Regions from separate parts of the Homo sapiens genome. Here region 2 is linked to region 1. The links are contacts of gene promoters, found by promoter capture Hi-C in human tissues and cell types (Jung and others, 2019). All regions are on one chromosome and are shown on one strand. The core of a region is centred on a gene start or on the middle of the fragment in contact, and the rest is flanking DNA. Distances in the headings are between cores, read along the strand shown.

Evidence for each region. Contacts are between HindIII fragments. The study calls those that stand out against the background at their distance.
Region 2: a contact is called between a fragment that was not itself captured here and the fragment with the promoter of ALG3 in region 1, in 1 of the 25 tissues and cell types used here (hippocampus).

What each region holds. Positions count from the first base shown.
Region 1 is chr3:184,246,955-184,251,814 of GRCh38, forward strand. ALG3 (ALG3 alpha-1,3- mannosyltransferase) reads right to left here and starts at 2,008. Exons shown (of 9, transcript NM_005787.6): 1 at 1,791-2,008. The coding sequence starts at 1,986. It overlaps EEF1AKMT4-ECE2 (EEF1AKMT4-ECE2 readthrough), which reads left to right and starts at 2,718. Exons shown (of 19, transcript NM_014693.4): 1 at 2,718-2,936. The coding sequence starts at 2,741. EEF1AKMT4 (EEF1A lysine methyltransferase 4) reads left to right here and starts at 2,718. Exons shown (of 3, transcript NM_032331.4): 1 at 2,718-2,936. The coding sequence starts at 2,741. RefSeq lists enhancers at 589-1,332, 1,333-2,076, 2,275-2,324, 2,405-2,464, 2,495-2,604. The HindIII fragment of the contact is 15,241 bases long and covers 1-4,860 here.
Region 2 is chr3:183,853,712-183,858,571 of GRCh38, forward strand. The region is part of intron 4 of PARL (presenilin associated rhomboid like); the gene reads right to left. Among named protein-coding and RNA genes, the nearest start is that of PARL, 29 kb to the right of the region's middle. The HindIII fragment of the contact is 5,750 bases long and covers 1-4,860 here.

The DNA.
Region 1 (4,860 bases), core at 758-3,257:
AGTGCAGTGGTGCGATCTCAGCTCACTGCAACCACCATCTCCCCGGTTCGAGCCATTTTCCCATCTCAGCCTCCCAAGTAGCTGGGATTACAGGCACTTGCCATCATGCCCAGCTAATTTTTCTATTTTAGTAGAGACAGGGTGTCAACATATTGGCCAGGCTGGTGTTGAACTCCTGACCTCAGGTGATCTGCCCGCCTCGGGCTCCCAAAGTGCTAGAATTACAGGCATAAGCCACCGTGCCCAGCCAGGCTGGTCTTTAACTCCTGCCCCCAAGTGATCCGCCCACCTCAGCCTCCCAAAGTGCTGGGATTACAGGCATGAGCCACCGTGCCCAGTCTAACTGAATTTTTTTTTTTTTTGACACGGAGCTTGCTCTGTCACCCAGGCTGGAGTACAGTGGCGCAATCTCGGCTCACTGCAACCTCCACCTCCCGGGTTCAAGCAATTCTCCTGTCTCAACCTCCCGAGTAGCTGGGATTACAGGCATATGCCACCACGCCCAGCTAATTTTTGTATTTTTAGTAGAGACAGGATTTCATCATGTTGGCCAGGCTGGTCTCAAATTCCTGACCTCAGGAGATCCACCCGCCTAGGCCTACCAAAGTGCTGGGATTACAGGCGTGTGCCGCTGCGCCCAGCCTAGCTGGAGATTTTTAATAGAGGATCCTCTGTCCACAGCACTCCTTCCCCTCACCTTTTTCTTCTTTCCTTAAATAGCTAATTCCTACCTTCCAAGGGTGGCTCTATGAAGCCTTTGCTGACTCCTCCAACCTGGTTTAAGTGACTTCCTATGCCCTTTATGGTATCCTGTGTTACTACTACCATGATTATGATGCATTATAATTGCCTGCTAACTTACTGTCCAGGCCCGAGTTAGAAATGCATCCTTTTTCTTTTTTTTTTTTTGAGACGGAGTCTTGCTCTGTCGCCCAGGCTGGAGTGCAGTGGCGTGATCTCGGCTCACTGAAAGCTCTGCCTCCCGGGTTCACGCCATTCTCCTGCCTCAGCCTCCCGAGTAGCTGGGACTACAGGCGCCCGCCACCATGCCCGGCTAAATTCTTTTTTTTTTTTTTTTTTCAGTAGAGACGGGGTTTCACCGTGTTAGCCAGGATGGCCTCGATCTCCTGACCTCGTGATCCGCCCGCCTCGGCCTCCCAAAGTGCTGGGATTACAGGCGTGAGCCACCGCGCCCGGCAGAAATGCATCTCTTATTCACCACTGTACCTCTCTCTGGTAACCAGCATAATGCTAGGCATATAATAAGCACTAAATAAATATTTGTTGAATTAAGAGTCTTTAGCAAGAAAGCCAAGTGCCTTAAGCCTAGAGTATAGTTTCAGCCTGGAAAGGAGTAGCCAATAATGCCTAATGGACTCAAGTGGTCACAAGATGCCATCATTGAGAAGGGACGTTCAAAGATCACAGAACTGAACACATGGAAAAAGCTGAGATCCAGGAGGAGACCTGAGGTGTCCAAAGCCACAGAGAAAAGCAGCAGCAGCAGCAGTACAACAATTTTGGCTCAAATCTGACTTCTAAGCTGGTTTGCAGGCTGTAAGTTCAGTGCAGAAGGCCAATCTCTAGGGTATCCACCTCTGCCATGCGGGCAGATTAAGATCCGGTTTTCTGTAGAGCAGGCTTGGCGCTCAGGTAAGGGATATGGATGGGTTCGCAATTGACGAGTGAGTGGATACAGAGTCTGGTTTGGAGTTCCAGGTCTGAGATCCAGTTTGGGTCGCGGGTTCAGGTCTCCCTCCCTCCCCTCCCCTCCCCCTCGGCGCACTCACATGCCACCCTGTGAATGACCCAGAAGGTGATGCCCACCTCCGCCAGGCAGAGGCAGGCGGCCACCAGCAGCGTGTAGCGCGGCTCCCGCAGCAGCAGGCGCCGCTCTTGCCAGGCGCGCTGCAGCCATTGCTTGCAGAGTCCCTCTGCCTGGGCCGCGGAACCGGACCGGCCGCGTTTCCGCAGCCCAGCCGCCATCTTAACGGTGCGCCGCTTGTGTGGGCCCACCACCCCCGGAAACCCGAACCTTCGACACTTAGGTTCCGCTTCCCGTGCCTGGCGTCCCACCAGGCTAAGCGCCGATCCGAGTAGCCAGTCTTCATTTACTCCACTAAAATGTAATTTTTCTGCATTTGTCTCCTCTGATGCACTCCACGCTCCATAGGAGCAGGGACAATGTCTTACTCCTCAGTTTATACCCAGCCCTGGGTACACAGGCGCTAATTTAGAACGAATGTCCAGAAAAGCAACATTCCTGCCTACCTCCCCCACAACCGCTGAAGCCAGCATTCTCCTTCGCCTGCGCTGGGAACATCTGTGTTCATGCTGTCTCTCCAGGAGGGCAAAGCCCCTGTTCGCGCCCCTCCTGCCTGCCCTTCGAGCCTTCCGGATGCTGAGAAAAATGAACCTTTCACTAATTTTCAGATTTCCTGATAAAAGTCATTCATATTGAAAATATGAGAGGACGCAGTGATGAGCCCACGTGAGTCTGACACCTTGAGTGCGGCCCTAGGAAATGACTTGGCAGTACAGCCGGAGGATTCAGGGTCTGGACGATAGTTTTCCCAGCCGGAGGATTCTTCGAAGAGCGCTTAGTAAAGGACGGAAGTTCCACGTGTTTGTGTTGAGCAACTGCAGGTGGTGGGCGGAGACACCAGCGCCCCGCCTTCTGCATCCTGCCTTCCGTATTGGCTGAAGGGCCGGCGGCTCTGGCTGCCCGGCGGTTGAGAGCATGGCCTCTCCAGGGGCAGGTAGGGCGCCTCCGGAGTTACCGGAGCGGAACTGCGGGTACCGCGAAGTCGAGTACTGGGATCAGCGCTACCAAGGCGCAGCCGATTCTGCCCCCTACGATTGGTTCGGGGACTTCTCCTCCTTCCGTGCCCTCCTAGAGCCGGAGCTGCGGCCCGAGGACCGTATCCTTGTGCTAGGTGGGTAATCCCGGCGCGGCCCCGCCAGGTAGAGCTGGCAGGACCGGCGCCGCATGGGCTTGGCCTGGTCCGCTTTCCTCCCGCCTGTCTATCCCTCTTGGAGGACGCCTGCGTTGGGACGCGAGATCCAGCTCCTTCAGAGTCCCGGCTGTATTTAGTCAAGGCTAACAGGAGTAAGAGATTGTTGGTCCCGGGGCCCTCTGGAGAAAGACAGTCCCTCAGAGTTTGAGCGTTGGGGGTACCCAAGACCCTGTCCGGACCCTCGGGAGGCAGGCAGCCTTGGGGACCGGATTGCTCAGAGGACCGAGATCAAGTCCTAGCGCTAATTGACTTGTAAAACTTAGGACAAGTCATGAACCCGTTCTGAGCTTTAGATTCAGTTCTAGAAATGGTACTGCGAGTTCACATCGGAGGCGGCACGCGCAGGCACCTCGAGAATAATGCCCAGCGCTTTTCTTTTTGCCCCTGGGCACTGGGAGCCAGAGTCACCTAGAGAGAGTCCTGTCTGAAACTTGGTCCTATGCCTTAGAGAGTGAGAACAGCACCCTCTAGGGGTGGAGGGGAGATTGCCGCCCAGGGTGATACGATTCCCCAAAGGGAGACGTGCTGGAGGAAAGGTAGGGCTCTGGGGTGTTCGGCTGACCTCTTGAGGTTCTCTCCTAGTGTCAGCCTTGGAGGCGCTAGTAAAGTTTGAATGAGCAACAGATTTTCTTCCAATTGTCGTTTTTACTTTGCTCTTTGTAAAAGCCTTTGTATGTTTAAGTGAAGTCTTTAATAAATAAAAAAGGTATATGTAATATATATGTAAGGTATAAATAACAAATCTAATGTGTGTGTCTATTCCACTCAGTTTGAGAAATAGAACATTACTAGGGATAGAAAAAAAAGTATAATTTAGTGGTTAATAACTTGGCTGGGCGCGGTGGCTCACGCCATTAATCCCAGCACTTTGGGAGGCCAAGGCGGGCGGATCACCTGAGGTCGGGAGTTCGAGATCAGCCTGACCAACATGGAGAAACCCCATCTCTACTAAAAATACAAAAAATTAGTCGGGTGTGGTGGCGCATGCCTATAATCCCAACTACTTGGGAGGCTGAGGCAGGAAAATCGCTTGAACCAGGGAGGCGGAGGTTGTGGTGAGCCAAGATCATGCCATTGCACTCCAGCCTGTGCAAGAAGAGCAAAACTCTGTCTCAAAAAAAAAAAAAAAAAAAGAAAAGAACTTGGACTCTGGGCTGGCCTCATGATTCATGCTCATAATCCCAGCACTTTGGGAGGCCAAGGTGGAAGGATCACTTGATCGCAGGAGCTCAAGACCAGCCTGGGCAACATAGTGAGATCCCATCTCTACAAAAAATTTAGGCCAGAGCAGTGGCTTATGCTTGTAATCACAACACTTTGGGAGACCAAGGCGGGTGGATCATTTGAGGTCAGGAGTTCAAGACAAGCCTGGCCAACATGGTGAAACCCCGTCTCTACTAAAAATACAAAAATCAGCCAGGTGTGGTGGCACGTGCCTGTAATCCCAGGTACTTGGGAGGCTGAGGCAGGAGAATCACTTGAGCCCAGGAGGTGGAGGTTGCAGTGAGCTGAGATTGCACCACTCCACTCCAGCCTGGGTGACAGAGTAAGACCCTGTCTCAAAAAAAAAAAAAATTAAAACTTAGCTGGGCATGGTGGCCTGTGCCCATAGTCCGAGTTACTCAAGAGGCTGAGGCAGGAGGATCGTTTGAGCCAGGAGATCCAGGCTGCAGTGAGCTGTGATGGCTCCAATGGGCTCCAGCCTAGGCGACAGAATGAGACCCTGTCTCAAAACAAAGCAAAACAAAAAACAAACAAACAAAAAACCACCTTGGACTCCAGAGGCAGTGAATTATGTTGGAATCTTGGCTCGGCTTATACTGGCTGTGTAATCCTGGACAAA
Region 2 (4,860 bases), core at 1,383-3,882, 390 kb before region 1:
ACCACAGTGAGGTATTATCTCACACTCATCAAGATGGCTACTGTCAAACACCTACACACTCACACAAAGAGAAAATAACAAATGTTGGCAAGAATGTGAGAAATTGGAAGACTTGAGCGCTGTTGGCGAGAATGTAAAATGGTACAACCGCCATGGAAAACAGCGTGAGAATTCCTCAAAAAATTAAAAATACAATAACCATGTGATCCACCAATCCTGTAACTGGATATACATCCAAAAGAATTGGCCAGGTGTGGTGGCTCATGCCTGTAATCCCAGCACTTTGGGAGGCCGAGGCAAGTGGATCACCTGAGGTCAGGAGTTTGAGACCAGCCTGACCAATATGGTGAAACCCTGTCTCTACCAAAAAAAAAAATACAAAAATTAGCCGGGCATGGTGGTGTACACCTGTAGTCCCAGCCACTCGGTAGGCTGAGACAGAATTGCCTGAACCTGGGAGGTAGAGCTTGCAGTGAGCTGAGATCACGCCACTGCACTCCAGCCCACGCGACAGAGTGAGATTCCATCTCAAAAAATAGAATCGAATGCATGGTCGGTCTCAAAGAGATATTTGCACACCCATTTTCATAGCAGCATTATTCACAATAACAAGAGGTAGAAATAACTCAAATGTCCATCAATAGGTGAATGGATAAACAAAATGTGATATACACACAAAATAAAATATTATTTAGCCTTAAAAAAGGAAGTAAATACTGTCACGTGCTCCAACATGGATAAACCTTGTGGACATTATGAAATAAGCCAGTCCAAAACACCAAGTATTTTATGATTCTACTTGTATGAGGTATCTAAAGTAGCCAAATGCATAGAAAAAGGAAGTAGAATGGTGGTTATCAAGGGATGAAGGGAGGAGAAAAAGGGGACGTATTGTTTAATGAGTAGAGTTTCAGATCTGCAAAATGAAAAAGTTCTAGAGATTGGTTTTACAAAAATGTGAATATACTGAACTCTACTGAACTATATGCTTAAAAATGATTAAGATGGTATATTTCATGTTTTTTTTTTTTACAATTAAAAAAAAAAAAAACAGTTACCATATGACCCAGCAATTCCATTCCTGGCTATATATACCGAGAAATGAAAACATATGTCCACACAAAAATGTGCACATGGAGGTTCATAGCACCATTATTAATAGCTGAAGAATGGAAACAACTCAAATGCCCATCAACTGATGAAGGAATAAACAAATGTAATATATCCATACACTGGAATATCATTTGGCCATAAAAAGAAACAGAAGTACTGATGATATATACTGCAACACGAGTGAACCTTAAAAACATTATGCTAAGTGAAAGAAACAGACACAAAAGGCCACATATTATGTGACTTGATGTATATGAAATCTCCAGAAGAGGAAAGTCCCTAGAGAAAGCAGGTTGATGGCTGCCTAAGGCTGAGGGGAAGGAGGGAAGGAGGGAATGGGGGAGTGACTGCTAACGGGAATGGGGTTTCTTTCTGGGATAATGAAAAGGCCCTGGGATTAGATGACGTTAATAGTTGCACAGCCTTTTAAATATAATAAAAACCACTGAATTTACTTTGGCTTTCTATTTTTATTTATTATTATTTTTAGAGAGATGTGGGAGGTCTCACTATGCTGCCCAGGCTGGTCTAGACTCAAGCAATCCTCTGACCTCGGCCTCCTAAGTGCCAGGCCTCCCAAGTGGTAGGATTACAAGTGTGGGCCACCACACTCAGCCAACTGCACATTTTAAATCAGTGGTCTCCAACCTTTTTGGCACCAAGGACCGGTTTTGTGTTAGACAATTTTTCCATAGACCAGGGGTGGGGGGATGGTTTCAGAATGATTCAAGTGCATTACATTTATTCTGCACTTTATTTCTATTATATCATAATATATAATGAAGTAATTACACAACTTATCAACTTATCATAATGTAGAATCAGTGGGAACCCTGAGCTTGTTTCCCTGCAACCAGACAGTCCTGTCTGGGTATGATGGGAGACAGTAACAGATCATCAGGCATTAGATTCTCATAAGGAGTACACAACCTAGATCCCAGCCTGGCCAACATGGCAAAACCCTGTCTCTACTAAAAATACAAAAGTTACCCAGGCGTGATGACAGGTGCCTGTAATCCCAGCTACTTGGGAGGCTAAGGCAGGAGAATCACCTGAATCCGGGAGAGATTGCAGTGAGCCAAGATCACACCACTACATTCTAGCCTGGGTGACAGAGCAAGACTCTGTCTCAAAAAAATAAACAAACAAAAAAAAAAACAAAAAAAACCCCACAAACAAAGTTTCACTTGTTCCCCTGCCGCTCACCTCCTGCTCTGCAGCCCGGTTCTGGTACCAGTCCCTGCCCAGGGCTGGGAACCCCTGCTTTAAATGGTGAATTTTATATGTGAATTATATCTTAATTTTTAAAAAGGCAGATGCACTGATTTGGAAAGCACTACTTGGTTCAATGACCTCAGGTTATCTTCCTCCTCAGCCCAAGAAAGGTAGTAAAACCCTTTTTCTCATTTTCCTATAAAGGACTTACCATACCACTTGGGGTCTAATAGCTATTCACAGATCCCCTCTGTTTCTGGGTGGGCCAATTCACCCCTCCAAAGCTCCTTTATCTGAAGGGGCTACTATACCAACCCAGACCTGGCCAGTCCAGACACTGACAAGCAAGTACATCCACAGCAGCCAAAGAACTAGGCTCAAGCCATCCTTACCTCAGGTTCTCTGGGAACCAGGCAGGTGCAAAGATCAACCTGTTGGCCTCACACAGTGGCTATCATTTCTTTTCCTAGGCAGTATCCACCAAACTAATTAAGGACTGGGTCCACAGCTACCTGGAATCAAGAAGAAACCCAGAGAGACTGTCCATCTTCCATCCTCCCACTGGGATAGAGACAGAAAGTTTGAAACTAATACGGGTAAACAGAAAGGGCAAATTCACAATGAGGGAGGCAAAGGCCCTTGTAATTGCTAACCACAAAAAAGGATTGTTATTTCTCTGTACTCTCCCTGCAGATGAGAATATCTAACCTCCCCTGTGGGGAACTTTTAGAAATCAATCTGATGTATTTATACTCTGTACATTGTTGGAGGACATTTAAAATGGTACACAACTTCTTTTAAGACAACTTTGCAATACACAAAATTTTAAATGTATATTCTTTGACCCAGCAATTCTATTTCCAGTAACTTATCCTAAAAATATACTTGTACAAGGTACAGAGATCTATATATAAGGCATTTCACTGTAGTAATATTCATAAAAGCAGAAGACTGAAAACAACCTAAATATCTATTAATAAAAGATTTGTTAAATAATACTCATTTACATGGAATACCATAATGCCATTAAAAAGAATATGCTGGCCAGGCACAGTGGTTCACACCTGTAATCCCAGCAATTTGGGAGGCCAAGGCAGGAGGATCACTTGAGCCCAGGAGCTCAAGACCAGCCTTGGGAGGTTGAGGCTGCAGTGAGCCGTGATCATGCCACTGCACTCCAGCCTGAGTGACAAGTGAGACGCTGTCTCAAAACAAACCAAAACAAACAAAAAAGCCTGATGTGCTGGTAATTTCCATTTATCAATCCAGGTGCTGGTTACATGGATGTGCTCAGCCTGTGAAAATTAATTAGTTGAGTTGTACATCTGACATATTCACATTCTTCTATGTATATTATACCTCAATAAAATATTAAAAAGAATGTAACAAACCTACTTGTATTGATATAGAATGTTCTTTAAAATATTAAGTGAAAAAAAATCATGGTGCAGAAGAGTATGTACTGCATGTTTCTATTTTTGTGTTAAACCACAGATAGATATAAATGCCTATATATAAATAGATGCTTTGGAAGAACACACAAGTAACTAAACATGCAATGGTTATTATGGGAAAGGAAAAGTGCAGAACTGGAAGTTCAGAGTGAGAGAAAGACTTATTTTTCACTTTATGTATCCTCTATTCCAATTTTCATCTGCTACCATGCATATTTATTCATTTTACAATGACAAAATCTAGTCTAGGCAGTCAAAAAGGGCTCCCTTTCCTCCCTGGGGGTAGGCTGCTACTTTGGAACAATTTGCTGCAATTTGTGCTGTGAATCAGCACCCAGATACTTGATAGGGGGAGGCAGTGTGGTTTATCAGAAAGGTAATTAATGGTGGTTTGCTATTCTAGAAAAGTGAAAAGGACATAATAAAAACCCTATTCTTTGATACATGAAGTGGATTTGATTCCCGAATCCACCCAGTTCTAGCTGTGTGATCGCAGTTACTTGGCCGTTCCTTGCCCCATCTGAGAAATGAGGATAACAGGGTTCTTATGATGACTAATAATAATAGAAATGCATGTAAAGCACATAGCATGATACTTGAAGTGTGGTTGGCACTCAAGGATTAACTTTGCTATTCTTCTACAAAAATAACTTGTTTGCAGACTGGGAAGTCAGGAGTTACAGAAAAACAGTGACTGATTCTGATTAAAAGGTAAAGATGGGCTATAAGACCAAGGAAAACATTGCCTTACCAGCAACATCAGGAATAGGTAAGGAGGCCTTAGTCTGGGAAGACAGCTCAAAACCTTGAAAAGGTACAAGGAGAGAGAGAACTGAAATGAAAAAGAATAAGCCTGGCAGAAACAGAACAGCAAAGAAAAAAGAATAGACTTTAGAAGTTGGGGCAAGGGGTCAAAGACTGGAGAGTAGTAGTGACTAAGCTTTGGAGCTGACAAAAAATACACTAGTAGAGGAACTACGGCACAGTTTTCTTGCGATCTCTCTCCCTATCCTTTTCTGTCCTTGCTCCTTCTTGATCAAAAATAATAATTTAGCTGATTTTTTCCTGTGGCTTTACC